2 separate regions of the Homo sapiens genome follow, and region 1 is linked to region 2. Evidence: promoter capture Hi-C in 16 types of primary human blood cells and fetal thymus (Javierre and others, 2016). All regions are on one chromosome and are shown on one strand. The core of a region is centred on a gene start or on the middle of the fragment in contact, and the rest is flanking DNA. Distances in the headings are between cores, read along the strand shown. Region 1 overlaps ZNF337 (zinc finger protein 337). Region 2 holds the start of NXT1 (nuclear transport factor 2 like export factor 1).

Region 1 (6,870 bases), core at 2,706-5,205, 2.3 Mb after region 2:
TCAGGAATAAAAGTCCTCAGACACATGGTTAATCTAAGGCAATGAGTGATCCAATGCAATTTGGATCCTGATTGCAACAAAGAATATGTGAGGAGTATTAACAGCCAGTGAAATCTGAACACTAATTGGATATTAGATTATCAAACATTAATTTTGTTGTTATAAAAGTATTTTGGGTTTTAAAAACATGAGCCCTTCCTTGTATACAAACTTTTGGAACATTCATGAGTGAAAATGATGTCTGGATGTGCTTAAACACCCCTTCTCACCCTCAAAAGTCAATTGAGCATTACTGGCCACACTTCATAATTTTTAGAACTGAATAATGTGTACTGGGTTCATTATATTATTTTCTCCGAATTTTTTGAAAAAAATTCCAGTAGAAATACAGGAAAAGAACTGTAAATTAAAGTGGTGGGTGTAATGATTTCATTAGAGTATTCACTATACTTTTAAGTGAATGTTTTGACTAAAAAAATAAAATTAAAAACACAGACATATAGGGGTGAAAAGAAGGAAATGTGAAGGAACAAAGATGCTATCATGTGGTGATTATGATGAACACAGCATACATCCACTAGCCAGTAACTTTGAGACAGAAGTGAACAAATACTATGGTGTTATGAAAAGAAAATAAAACTAGGGACCCCAGTCCACTCTGCCAAAAGGAAAAACATTAAGCTGAAAGCTAAGTCATGCAAGAAGCTGCCTTTCCTTTTGTTCTTAAGGAGATAGCTACAGATAAAACGTTAAATATCTCCATAGTAGCTACTCTATGCACACCGTATCTTATGTAAAGTGCTGATTTACTGAGTGTGAGATGAATGCATAACTATTTTCCTACCTGCTCCTTTTCTCTTGTCACAGGTGGATTACCACACCTTTCCTCTTTCCCCTCCAGCCTACTTTTCCTTTTTAAACAATGAGGCTCTCAAACTCATCTTTGGGGAAAGCCACTGGCCTCTTTCTGTGGCATGTCCTCAACTGTGGCAAAATAAACATCTAAATTGGTACTTGACTCTGATACTTTTTGGTTTACATGTAGTTGGAGAAGAAAAACAGTGAAATTTCTTCCTCTGACGGCAGTTGAAAGGTGATTTAAAACATTTTTGTTATTTCTTTCTATATACTTACATAAATAGTTTACCTTTCATGTCCCATCTGTGCTATCTTTACCTATTCCAAAGTCACAAAGATATTCCCCTACATTTACTCTTAGAAGTTTAAATATGTTGTTTTTGATGGTAGTATAAATATGTATTTCATTTTTTAACTGTTTGCTGCTAGGTTACAGAAATACAAGTGCTTTTTAAAAATACTGACCTTATTTTCTGAAGTTCCTAAACTGTGTGTTACTAGTATCTAGTTGTTTAACTATTCTTCCATGTACATACTCACATCTTCTGTGAATAAAAAATTTTTTTTTCTGTTTCAACGTTTATGCCTTTTATTCCTTTTTAATACCTTAACAGGTTAGCTAGTTATTCTAGGATAATGCTAAATAAGAGTGATAAGAATCAACATTAATGCTTGTTCCTGATCTTAGTGTGAACACACTTCACCATTAAATATGATGATTGCAGCCAGGCTGTCACACATAACCTTTGTTTCATTAAGGGAAATTCTTTCTATTCCTCATTTACTGAGAATTTTTACCCTGAATAGGTGTGAAATGTTATCAAGTATTTTTCTGCATTAAGATAGTAATGTAGGTTTTTCTCTTTTGCTCCCTGAAAGCAGTGAAAGGAAAATAAAAACGTTGGAACCCAAACCACTCTGCCAAAAGAAAAATATTAAGCTGAAAGCTGATTCATCCAAGAAGCTACCTTTCCTTTTGTTCCTAAGCGGAGAACTACAGATAGGTTAAGTAAGGGTAAGTATCTCTGCCGGGCGCGGTGGCTCACGCCTGTAATCCTAGCACTTTGGGAGGCTGAGGCGGGCCTCCTCCTCGTGGTCAGGAGATTGAGACCGTCCTGGCTAACACCGTGAAACCCGTCTCTACTGAAAATACAAAAAAATACAAAAAATAGCCGGGAGTGGTGGCGGCGCCTGTAGTCCCAGCTACTCGGGAGGCTGAGGCAGGAGAATGGCGTGAACCCGGGAGGCAGAGCTTGCAGTGAGCCGAGATCGCGCCACTGCGCTCCAGCCTGAGCAAGAGTGAGACTCCGTCACAAAAAAAAAAAAAAAAAAAATTAGTCGGGTGTGGTGGCGAGCGCCTGTAGTCCCAGCTACTCAGGAGTCTGAGGCAGGAGAATGGTGTGAACGTGGGAGGCAGAGCTTGCAGTGAGCGGAGACCGTGCCACTGCACTCCAGCCTGGGCAACAGAGCAAGACTCCGCATCAAGAAAAAAAAAAAGTTAAATATCTCCACAGGTTGCTTACTCTATGTTCACTCTATCCTCGGTTTTTTGGGAACAAACTCTATTTGGCTAGAATATATCATCCTTTTCATGTATTGCTGGATACTACTTGTCCATATTTTGGTGAGAATTCTTGACTATTTTCCTCTGGAATGATTACATGTAAGGGCACATGAGAACTCTTGTTGAAATGTTCTGTATCTTGATTGAGGTGATAAGTGACCTGTGTATACTTTAAAGAGTCAAAACTCATTATACAGTTAAAAGCAGTGCTTCTTACGGTATGCAAGTTACACCTCAACACTGATTAAAAATCCTCTCAGAGATCAAGTATATATGGGTAAAATAACAAGACATCTGGATTTGTTTGAAATACTTTGGCACATAAACAGGGGGAAGGGATAAATCTAACAGAACTACCCATGGTTTTAAAATGATCAAATCTGGATGAAGGCAACATGGGGATTCCTATTACCATCTCCCAATTTTGCTACCCATTTGAGATTTTTCATAACACTAGTTTACAGAAAAAGCATTAATCATATTGCTAATTCTATGCTTACCAAAAAATTGGCTAAAATAATCTTATAGGAGCTAACTTCATTTGAAAATACTCAAAAGTCCCCAGCATTCAAGAAACTGCCCAATCAAGAAAAAGCCACATTAAAAACAGAAGGCAGCTGGCTGGGCACAGTGGCTTATTCCTGTAATCCCAGCACTTTGGGAGGCTGATGCATGTGGATCGCTTGATCCCAGGAGTTCGGGACCAGTTTGGGCAACATGGCAAAGGCTCATCTCTACAAAAAATATAAACATTAGCTGGATGTGGTGGCACGTGCCTGTAGTCCTAGCTACTCCTGGCTTGAGCCCAAGAGGTTGAGGCAGCAATGAGCCTTGAATATGCCACTCCACTCCAGCTTGGGCAACAGAGCAAGACATAGTCTCAAGAAAACAAAACAACAACAACAACAAAAACAAAACAGGAGACAGTCATATTTGCAGCCCAATACACCTTATTCCCAATGTTCTATCCTGTCCAAGTGTTGTCTAATGGAAAAATCTCATGGTGAACTTGCCTATAGATCCCTGGGGCAAAAAATTACAGGTGCAGAATACAACAGAGCTTCTAAAGCAGCATCTCAGTTTCCACTTCCTTCCCTCAAACCTGAGAAAGCACAGTAGACCTTTCTTACAAGGTTCTAAGCTGTTGGAGGCTGCCTGAGGGACTGCTCTGTTTTGAGGATCTCACACCTTAGGGAAGAAAAGCACTGGATCATGCTTGGCAAAGATGCAGACAGATTGAAGAGCAGATGCCTGGGGCAAGATATTATGGGTGGAGACATACAACAGACCATCAAAGGCCCAGAGGAGAGACTCTTGGGACAAATAAATATTTAAAAGCAGTTGCCTATGAGAAAATGGAAAAAGCCACAAGCAAAGGTAAGATCCATGCTCCAAAAAGGCCTGAGAAAATCTTAAACCTTCTCCTCAGATTGATCCCAAAGCTTAGAACGAATACCAAGATAATAGCAAAAATCCTCCCTGGAAAAGAGTCAGTCTGCAAAAACCGGAAAAGGAGGTTGTTTTTTCCACAATGCCTAATTTCTAACAACAACAACAAAAACTCAGAAAACATGGCCCAATAAGTGGAAGAAAATAAAGTGACGGAAACCTTCCCCGGAGAAACATAAGCTTCAGGCAAACTAGACAGATTTTAGACTGTCTAAAATATTCTCAAAAACTCATGAAACACGGGTAGAGAAAAGGAAATCAGGAAAATATATATGAACAAAATACCAACAGAGATTACAAAAAGGAAGCAAACAAAAATTCTGGACCCGAAAACACAGTAATTGAAAAATTCAGTAGAGGGATTTAACGGCAGATGAGCAGGCAGAAGAAATAATCAGTAAACATAAAGAGAAGAATTTGAAATTTCAGAGACAGAGAAGCAGAAGAGAAAAGAATGAAATAAACAGAGCCAAAAGAGTTATAAGGTGCCATTAACTGGACATATATATGGGTGTCTAGAAGATGCTGATAGATTACTGAAGAAATAATGGCCAAAACTTCAAAATTTGAAGACAGACATGAATCTACAAGGCCAGCACACTCAACAAACTCCAAGAATAAATTCAAGGAGGTCCACACCCAAACACACTTCTCAACTATACTTACATGAAACCAGCTTCAGGAACACAGGACTGGCAGGGGGAGAGAAGTTAAGAATAGTGGCATCGTGCCTCTCTCAGGGAAAAGCTGTCACCATAGACTGAGAACTGGAGAGGGACAGGGTTCCATCTTGTGATTTTCACAGCCCACAGTGGAGTTTCTCTCAGAGTGGACCAAAATGGGGGTGGGGAGGGTAGCAGTTTGTGTGTCAAATGTTACAGACTCTCACTGTTCTCAGAAAGGCTCAGTTGATTTTTCTGAATAAATGTTTCTCTAAATTCCTGAGTGGTCTTAAGACAAATTCCGTGTAGTTTAAATGGTTGTTTTTGGTTTTCTAAATTACCAGTTATGGTGTTTTACTGGAGATACAGTCCACGTCGCTCCTCACTGCCATTCCAGAATCCACATTTCTGATTATAGTTGGGACCAGAACTAGGGCCAGGCAATTAGGTAAGTGGTGTGATCATTATTTGTCCTTATGGGTAGAAGTAGAATTAGGAGATGAGCCTGGCAGGCAGAAGGAAGGAAGGGAAGGAAAAAGCTATGGCAAGGAAAGAATGAACAAGCCTCAGCACCTAAGCAAGCAAATGGGAAGTTTGCCAAGGTAGGGAAACTTCCTTTACCTAGATCACAACGAGAGAAGTAAAACAGACAAGGGGCACTACTGAGCTGGTTTCTAGATATTTCTTCTCTCATGCTTCCCATCTTAATGAACCTGAGTGTGAAATCTGAATTGTAAGGAGAAATTTTTGAGACCTGGAAAATTTCTGCATAAACTGGGTAATGAGTGAAATTAATACATTGCTAATTTTGTTGAGTATGATTCTGGTACTCTAGTTACGTTAAAAGGCAAGACAGTAACAACAAAAATAGTCCTCAGAGAAGTAGCTGCAGTAAATTTACAGATAAAATGGTGTCTTGGATTGGCTTCAAGATGCTCTAGCCTGAAAACAGAAAGCATGGGGTGGGGAGGGGGTTGGATGAAATAAGAAGAGCAAAGTGTTAAGGTGCAACAAGGGAACAGAGAGATCTGTTATATATTCTCTCTACTTTAGTTCCTACTTCAATATTTTTCATAGTAAATTTGAAAAAAATTGAATATCCCTTCCAAGATAATTTGGAGAGGAAAAATAGAGAAAACTTTCATTTCCAGGGTGTGAATGGAGAACACTGCAAACTGTTTGGTCTCACTCCTGCCATCTGTTGCCATCTGTGGGAGTTAATATCCTGTAGGAACAGAAACTGAGAGCCGTAAGAAAGTGGTTTAAATTAGTTACCAATAAATTAGATATGAATATGAGGCAAACTTGAAACATTTAGCTCCTCCACGTATATTTCATTAAAATTCTCCTAAGATAAAAAAACAGCTCCTACATTTTTGGGAGATGAAAAATGTTCATATGTTGATTTGATGATCAAGACTTCACTATATACATTTCTCAAAACTCATCAACTAGAACTTAAAATGGGAGATAATTTTATTGTCTCAATTATACCTCAATGAAGCTAATTCTTAACAGAAACCCCCAAAATCCCAGCTTGCTCCACAACCCAGTCCACTTGATCCCAGATATGTTACATAAAGTAAAAATTATTATTTTTTGAGACAGAGTCTCACTGTCCCCCAGGCTGTAGTGCAGTGGCATGTTCTCTGCTCACTGCAACCTCCATCTCCTGGATTCAAGCGATTATCTTGCTTCAGGCTCCAGAGTAGTTGGGATTACAGGCGTGAGCCACCATGCCTGGCTAATTTCTGTATTTTTAGTAGAGATGAGGTTTCACCATGTTGGCCAGGCTGGTCTCGAACTCCTGGCCTCAGGTAATCTGCCCGCCTTGGCCTCCCAAAGTGCTGGGATTACAGGTATGGGCCACCACGCCAAGCCGTAAAAATTATTTCAACTGATTAACACGCCACTTCTTAGTCTGTGAAATGGGGATTCCAATTCCTAACTTCCACATTGGTTGAAGAGATGAATAGGGCAATGACTATAAAGCCCTGTCCCTGGGACAGGACAATGGCTCAGCACATGCTGACTGAATAATTTTTTACAAGACCTGGTCTGCACCACGAATGCAGCAGCCTGAATAAAGCACTGAGAGAAGAAATGTAGGGACAATGATGGAAGTGTCCTGAATGAGGGCATCAGATCTGGGGAACGTTCCCCATGAGAACCGGCTGAGAGGTTCTGAGCCTCAGATGGGACAGTGTAGGGCACAAGATGTCAGACATTAGCAAAGGAAACCCACCATGGTTTAGGGCAGAGAAGGCACTGCAGGAAGGCAATACATAAGAAGTCCCCACCTGGGGTTGGGCTGTCCTCCCTTACCCTGCAGACAGT
Region 2 (7,040 bases), core at 2,769-5,268:
CCTCCCCAGGTGTTTTTGGCAGGACTGTCCCTCAAGCCACCCATCCCTCCTGGGCAGCAGAGGGGTGGCACATGACTGAAGTTGGGCCAATCCAACTCTCTCCTGAGAATCTGACTTTAGTGGAGAATCCCAGGTTCTAGACACTGGTCACAGCTCTGTCAGTCCAACTCAGCCTCTGAGGCATCCATTGCCCAGTTCTTGTTCCCAGACTAAAAGAGCCACCTTACCAGTGCCTTCTGTAGACTCTGCAAGCATCCTGCAGTCTTCCATTAAATACTGATAAATATGTGTATTTAGTTCCAATTCCACATAGAGGCTTTGCAGCCGTCTGACCTCTCCCACAATTCCAGATGGCTGGTGGCTGAGCTGGGAAGAGGGCTGAGATTCAAACCAGAAATGATCCCTACAACCTTCTCAGACAAACGGCATCATTGCAGGCTGGACAAATGCTCCAGATGGTGCCTCCTTTATACACTGCCATTTAATGTCTACAGTGTCCACACCCCCATTTTACAGAGGCAGTAACTGAAGTACAGAGAAGGCAGAGCTCAGATTTCACAAAACTCTGTCTAACCCCATAGGGTTTGCTCCTTCAGTAAACCTCAGAATCTCCTCAAAAGTCAGGTCCCCAACTGCCCTCCTGGAAAAGCAGCCCCAGCTCACTCTGAACTGGCAGTGGCTCAGATGATCCTGCTAAGGCTGAGAGACGGAAAAGAAAGTGTTTTTGGTGGCAGTACATTAGAGTCACAACTGCTTTGCTGTCACCGTAGATTGACTGGCTCCAAGTCATGCAGCCTCTCATGGCAAACAAATGCTGTTAAGATCCTGCGCCAGAGAACAACATTGACAATGAGGGAAAAGATCAATCCTCTATTTACAGACTTAAAGATCCTTAAATCAAGCCTGTCATCAGAGCTGCCAAGGACTCTGCCTGTGTGACCAGATGTGCCCTTCCTCCCTGGACGGACTCCACGCTGCACATGGGACCACTGGGCTCATCTTCAGAAGGGCCCATGCAATTTGGTGACAAATCCCACCAATTTGTCAATACACTTCTTCCAAGTTTAAAAGCCAGTCATTGGAGGGATTGTTGGCAAATAAGGAAGTTGCTATAGATGCAAAATGTCAAAGCATGATTCTGCTTTCCCAACGCTTTCTGGATGCTACTTCATGCTCGGCCCCATATGAAGCACTTAGCATGCATTGTTTCGTTCGCTCTTCACGTCAGCCCGAGGAGATGGATATGACCATTGCCCCTATTCTACAGAGGAGGCAGCTGAGCCTCAAAGAGGCTAACTCACTTGCCACAGCCACCCTGCTAATGCTTAAGCCACACTAGTCAGGTTGCAAATAACTTTATGCTTATGCCCAATTTTAAATAGTACAAAAGATAAAAGGATTTCCTGGCTCTTGAAACTGAAAAGTCCAAACTTGAGGGATGATTTGACTCCCAACATAGTCATCAAGAGCCTGATTTCTTCCCAGCTTTCCTGTCTGCCTCATCAAGGGTCTACCACTCAGGGCAGCAAGATGGCTGCAACAGTGCTATCCACACACTGTGAGTCCAGAAGGGAAGGGAGAAAAATCTCCTTCCCCAGAATCCTTCAGCAAACACCTCCAGGCTCAGTGGCCCTAATTGGGCCTCCGACCACCCTCAGCTGTGCTCAACGCATACAGTGCCAGTCGTGTGTCCTTTGGAACCAGGGATGTCTCTGACCTCCCCAAACTCCAGGATCATAGTAAGGGAGGAGACCACCCCTCATATTGTCTTATGCCCAATTTCTGCCTCCAAAGAAAAAAGTAGTAAAAACTAAAAGGCAGAAATGAAATCCACAAGCAGACAGCCCAGCGCCACACCCTGGGCCTGGTAAAGATTGACTCCTGACCTAATTGGTTGTTTGCATAAAAAAGGCACTGTGAAGATCCCTGTCCTGTCCTGTTCCGTTCTAATTACCTGTGCATGCAGCCCCAGTCACATACCCACTGCTTGCTCAATTGATCATGACCCTCTCACGTGGACCCCCTTAGAGTTGTGAGCCCTTAAAAGGGACAGGAATTGCTCACTTGGGGAGTTCGGTTGTTGGAGACGTGAGTCTTGCTGAAGTTCCCTGGCCGAATAAAGCCCTTCCTTCTTTAACTTGGTTTCTGAGGGGTTTTGTCTGCGGCTTGTCCTGCTACAAATAGGGGGAATAAAAGCCAGGGTTGCTTCCAAAGAGAGCAGGGAGTGAGTGTTGAGGACAGATCATCACAACTGTGCAGTTGAGGAGCATGATTTGAACCCAGGTTTGTCTGTTCATTCAAACAGTATTTATTGAGCCCTTGCTTTGGGTCAGGCACAATTTTATATGCTGGAGACACAAACCTAAAAGGACCCTAACCTAAAAGGCAGACCCCACAAACCTAAAAGGCAGAACAGCTGCCTTTCAAAGCTAAAGTCTCGCATTTTTAAAAGGCCTTGGAGCTGCATTAATGTTCTTCTAATTTTTCTAGGTATGAATCTTCATACTTTTCTAGGTATGAATCGACCCTGTGACACCAGGATGGTTCTTTGTCAGCCTCCTTGTCTATAAAATCAGAAATAATGGTACCTCCCCCAATAAGTTATGTGAAACAAATTAAAGGGGCTTATTATACAGGAAACAAAAGCAGCACAGCATCCAAACTACTGAGCGTGCAGTAAATCAACGCATTCCCACTTCCATTCCATCCACGCTGATTTAGATCAATCCAAGTATCACTGCCTTGGGGTTCAAAAGGCCATGTTAGTTCACAAAGCCCCGAAAATGCTCTTTCACACTCTCTGCTCAGCCTCCAACGTGTCTTTTTAATAATCCAAACTTTCCACCTACTTAACTGAAGTGTGTGGGGGGAGAGGGTGCGGGGGGGAAGGGGTGGCCTATACTAAATAGCCCAACTGTTTTCCACTTGTCCTGAAATCTGAGACCAAGATTCTCTTAGGAATGCAAGCAAAGGGAGCCGACGGGACGCCAAGAAAGCACAGGTTAAACTACCTCACTTCATCTAGCCCCATTTCTCTCCTGGCTTTTCAATTAATTATTCAGCCTCAGACCAGCAGATGGAGCTGAAAATGTTGTCTAAAGAAATGAGGTTTTTCTTTTAATTTACAAGCTATAGTTTCTCATGCCTCCACACTGAATGGTTACATCCTGTTGAGCCTGTTCGTAAAGTTCAGTAAAAATCCAGTTCTCATTCCAGAACAGCTGAATCGTAGCTATGAACGCGGAAGAACAGAGTCCCAACCCCAGCCGGGCCCGGGTTTCCCGGGGCCCCTCAAGCCTCAGGGCAGTGGAGAGCCGCCGTCACGCCCCCGCCTCCCCCACGTCCCACCCTCGCCCCAGTCTCCTCCCACTTTTAGCTACTTTTCCCATCTGACTAAAACTGGCTTCCTCCGTGTCCACCAAGATGTCGCCTCTAAGTGGCCTAACTCCTAAAGAGCGCGATCGGCTCAAGCACTCCGCCACGCGGTTTCCACGGGGCGCGGCCGGCGTTGCCCTCGCCGTGGCCTCAAGCATTGCGGCGCCCCACATGTTGCCAGACGGAAGGCCTCGGCGGGGTCAGGCAGCTGCTGCTGGCCGTGACTACATCACTGGTGACGTTTCACGAGACTTTTAACTGAAATCACTCCAATACAGGCGCATGCGGGACGAGGGGAAAGCATCTCACCCGACCCCACACACCTTCCCCTCCCTCTCCAGCCTAGCGGCCTCCGCTCAGCGGAAAAAAAAGCAGACGCTACTCCCCGCTCTAGGTGCGGGACCTAAGAGGTTTGGCCCAATCAGGCATCCCACCTAACCAGACGGGCCGGAGTCTGTGGCCCGGTTGGACCAACGAAAACTCTAGGGCGGATTTGCCGGGATTTCTGGGAAAGTGACACTCCCGGAAGCTACCGCCTCTTATAAGCCACACATGGGCGGAGTTAGCCTTCCGGCCCGCAGTCCCACTGGCTGACTTCGCTGCCCGTCACGGGAATGCGGGAGAGGGCGGCGCCGGGGCGCTCGCGTCTGCGTGGAGACCGGCTGGCCGCGCGCGGGAAGCCGCGGAACTGCGCCGGAAAGTCCCCCGGCTCTGGGGCCCCGGTGACCCAGAGTAAGCCTCCAAGAAGGAGGAGGAGGAGAGAAAGGCGGCTCTTCCCGTGCCCCTACCAGAGGCTTCGGTGGGCCCACCTTGTGACCTCCGCGGCCGGCCCCTCAGTGGAACTGCGTCCCACGCGGGGGGCGTCCCGACCGTGGGGGCCGCGGCCCGCGCTGACCCTGGACGTCGCCGCGCAGGTACGTTGCCGTCCCCCGGCGGTCTGACCCCCGAGACAGCCCCTAGTGCATACCCCACGCCCTCCTCCATTGTCGAGAATGAGACACGGCTGTGCCTTTGTCCACGTGGTAGAGTTGCCGCCGCGGTGAGGCTCTCGCCTGTGCAAAAAGCGTGGCAGCGAATTCTCATCAACGAGGGGAGGCGCGTCCCCTCACAGCGCAGCTCTCGGGTCTGAGGAGGGCCGGGCAGGGCGTGCGTCTGTCTAGGTTTGAATTAAAGGCGACTCACAGGAAATAAGGCCATGCCACTGTGGTAGCTTTTCCCGTCCATCTCCGGACACTCGACGGTGTGGGTCGTGCGAGGAGGCGGCAGTCTTCACAGCCTCTTACTCTAGTCCTCACGGTCAGGTTCTTTTTCTGATTTGACACAGACAGCGGGACTGACGACCTCATAGGTAGCTGAAAACCGTAAGTGGAGATGGTCCTTCTATGGTGTGTGGGGGCGTGGCCAGTTGTTAGATTGTGTTTGGAAAGACAGCCAGGGGCGGAGAAGAGGGGCATTTCTGAGATGATGGGGGGACTGGTGCCATGGAGGGAGGAGGAGTGAGGTGGAGATCGGGAATTCCAGCCAAAGAGAAATGGGGTCCCTGGGAGAAAATTCCCACTCTAGCAGTCCTGGAGTTGTGCTCATGGAGACTTGCTTACGCGAGTACAAGGACAGCGTTGTATTGACAAAATTTCAGCCCTCAGTCTAGTCTTGTAAACGATAGATCAGGAGTGTACTTAACCGTCGTTACTTTGATCCAGCCCTAGGTTTCCCTTTTCTCATTTGTAAAATTGTTATAGTAATACCTTTTTCATCCATTTGTGGTAACATTTAAATGAGGTAATTTGTGTGAAGCCCTTAGCAAACACAGCGCTTCTTAGTCGTGGGTTCCGCGTGGGGTGGATTCAACCAACCTCAAATCAAAAATATTCTTCAGAAAAAGAAAAATGCGTTTGTACTGAACATGTAGAGGCTTTTTTTTTCTTGTCATTATTTCCTAAACTATACAGTATAACAACTATTTACATCCCATCTACATTGTATTAGGTATTATAAGTTACCTACAGATGATGAAGGTATATAGGAGGATGCTGCGCATAGGTTATATCAAACAGTACACCATTTTATCAGGGACTTGAGCATCTGCAGGTGTTGGTATCCTCGGGGGTCCTGAATCCAGTTCCTCACAGATACCGAGGGACCACTGTACTCAGTCCAGAGTACAGTTGAGGCTTAACTATGAGGTCTGTGGAGGGCGTGGAAAGACCCACGTCTGAAATTGGCTCTTAACTGCTCATTTTTAGGACAGCTTCCCTCCCAGCCAGCCCTTTACCAGAGGCAATGCACCATCTTTGCAGCCGTTATAAGTACCTGGCTCTTTCCAGCCCTATGTGGAATGTTTTATTTATTTCATAAGCTAATCATTATAAAAAAAAAAGTCTTTTTTTTGAAATGAAAAAAAACTGTTCACTAAGTTTGTAAGTATAAACTATTTTAGTAATGTCCTCTATTTTAGTAATGTCCTCTTTTTTTTAAGTGAAATATTTTAATTATGGAGAAAAGAACATAACAGTTGTACCTGTACCCTGAAAAAAGTAAATGTCAATTTTTTAAATGCTTTTGGACTTTTTTATTTGGGGGACAATGTGACATTTCAGCTATAGTTCATATTCTGTGTCCACACACCCAAGAGCTTTGAAATCTAACATGCCTTTCTGTGGAGGCACTGTGACTCCACAGGACTTATCTGGTGGATGTTAGTACCTGTGTAAGCTGGGTGTCCTCCCTTCTAATCCCCACTCACCCAAGAGGTTTGCTGCTTCTAGCTTATCATGGGGATTATGGCTGCCATTTTGATTCTGTCCTCATGTCATTTGTGTTTCTACCCTCTTAAGAAACCTGCCTTCTCTGCCTTCCCAGTTCCTCCTGAGTGAGCTCATGATAGACTTTCCTAGACTCAGCAGCTGACGAGCATTTCATTGGTTTGGTTGGCCTTTATTGGGCCAGTGACCACTCTTCCCTTCAACATGGTCCACTGTCTTTACCAAGGGGCTGTCATGTCTGTTGCAAGCATTCAGGAAAGAGTGGCCTTCCATACTCAAATGTACTCTATTTTATAAAATGTGATTTTAAAAATTCGTGGTCCAATCAGGCCTCCTTATCCTCTGGGAATTGATTCCAGCAGCCCCCCTAGCCCCACAACAGACCAAATCTGCTGATGCTCCAAGTCCTTGATATAAAATGGCGTTAAGGCCGGGCATGGTGGCTCATGCCTGTAATCCCAGCACTTTGGGGGGCCGAGGCAGGCAGATCACCTGAGGTCAGGAGTTTGAGACCAGACTGGCCAACATGGCGAAACCCTGTCTCTATTAAAAATACAAAAGTTAGCCAGGCGTGGTGGCGGGCATCTGTATTCCCAGCTACTTGGGAGGCTGAGGCAAGAAAATCGCTTGAAGCTGGGAGGCAGGTGTTGCAGTGAGCCGAGGTCGCGCCACTGCACTCCAGCCTGGGTGATAAAGTGAGACTGTCACAAAAACAAAATGGCATAGCACAGTCAGCCCAACGTATTTGCAGGTTTCGCCCTGAGGTTGGCTGAATCTGTGGATGCAAAACCCTCAGATATGGAGTGCTGACTATAACTAAATGTTTTTAAACTAAACACTTAAGGTATACTATCTCAGTTTGCCACAGTGGTAATCCCATCTTAACAGTGAGCAAACTGAGTC

Evidence for each region. The method cuts DNA at HindIII sites, captures the fragments that hold promoters and counts their contacts. A CHiCAGO score of 5 or more calls a contact.
Region 1: a fragment that was not itself captured here is called in contact with the fragment with the promoter of NXT1 in region 2 in 2 of 17 cell types (naive B cells and total B cells); the score reaches 13.7 in naive B cells.

The regions. Positions count from the first base shown.
Region 1 is chr20:25,686,963-25,693,832 of GRCh38, forward strand. All of the region lies in intron 1 of ZNF337 (zinc finger protein 337), which reads right to left. Among named protein-coding and RNA genes, the nearest start is that of ZNF337, 6.5 kb to the right of the region's middle. The HindIII fragment of the contact is 187 bases long and covers 3,863-4,049 here.
Region 2 is chr20:23,346,773-23,353,812 of GRCh38, forward strand. NXT1 (nuclear transport factor 2 like export factor 1) reads left to right here and starts at 4,019. Exons shown (of 2, transcript NM_013248.3): 1 at 4,019-4,289. NXT1-AS1 (NXT1 antisense RNA 1) reads right to left here and starts at 4,695. Exons shown (of 3, transcript XR_937384.2): 1 at 4,558-4,695. RefSeq lists enhancers at 3,020-3,892, 3,601-3,740, 3,660-3,954, 3,893-4,764, 4,821-4,870 and silencers at 3,311-3,440, 4,061-4,330. The HindIII fragment of the contact is 12,471 bases long and covers 1-7,040 here.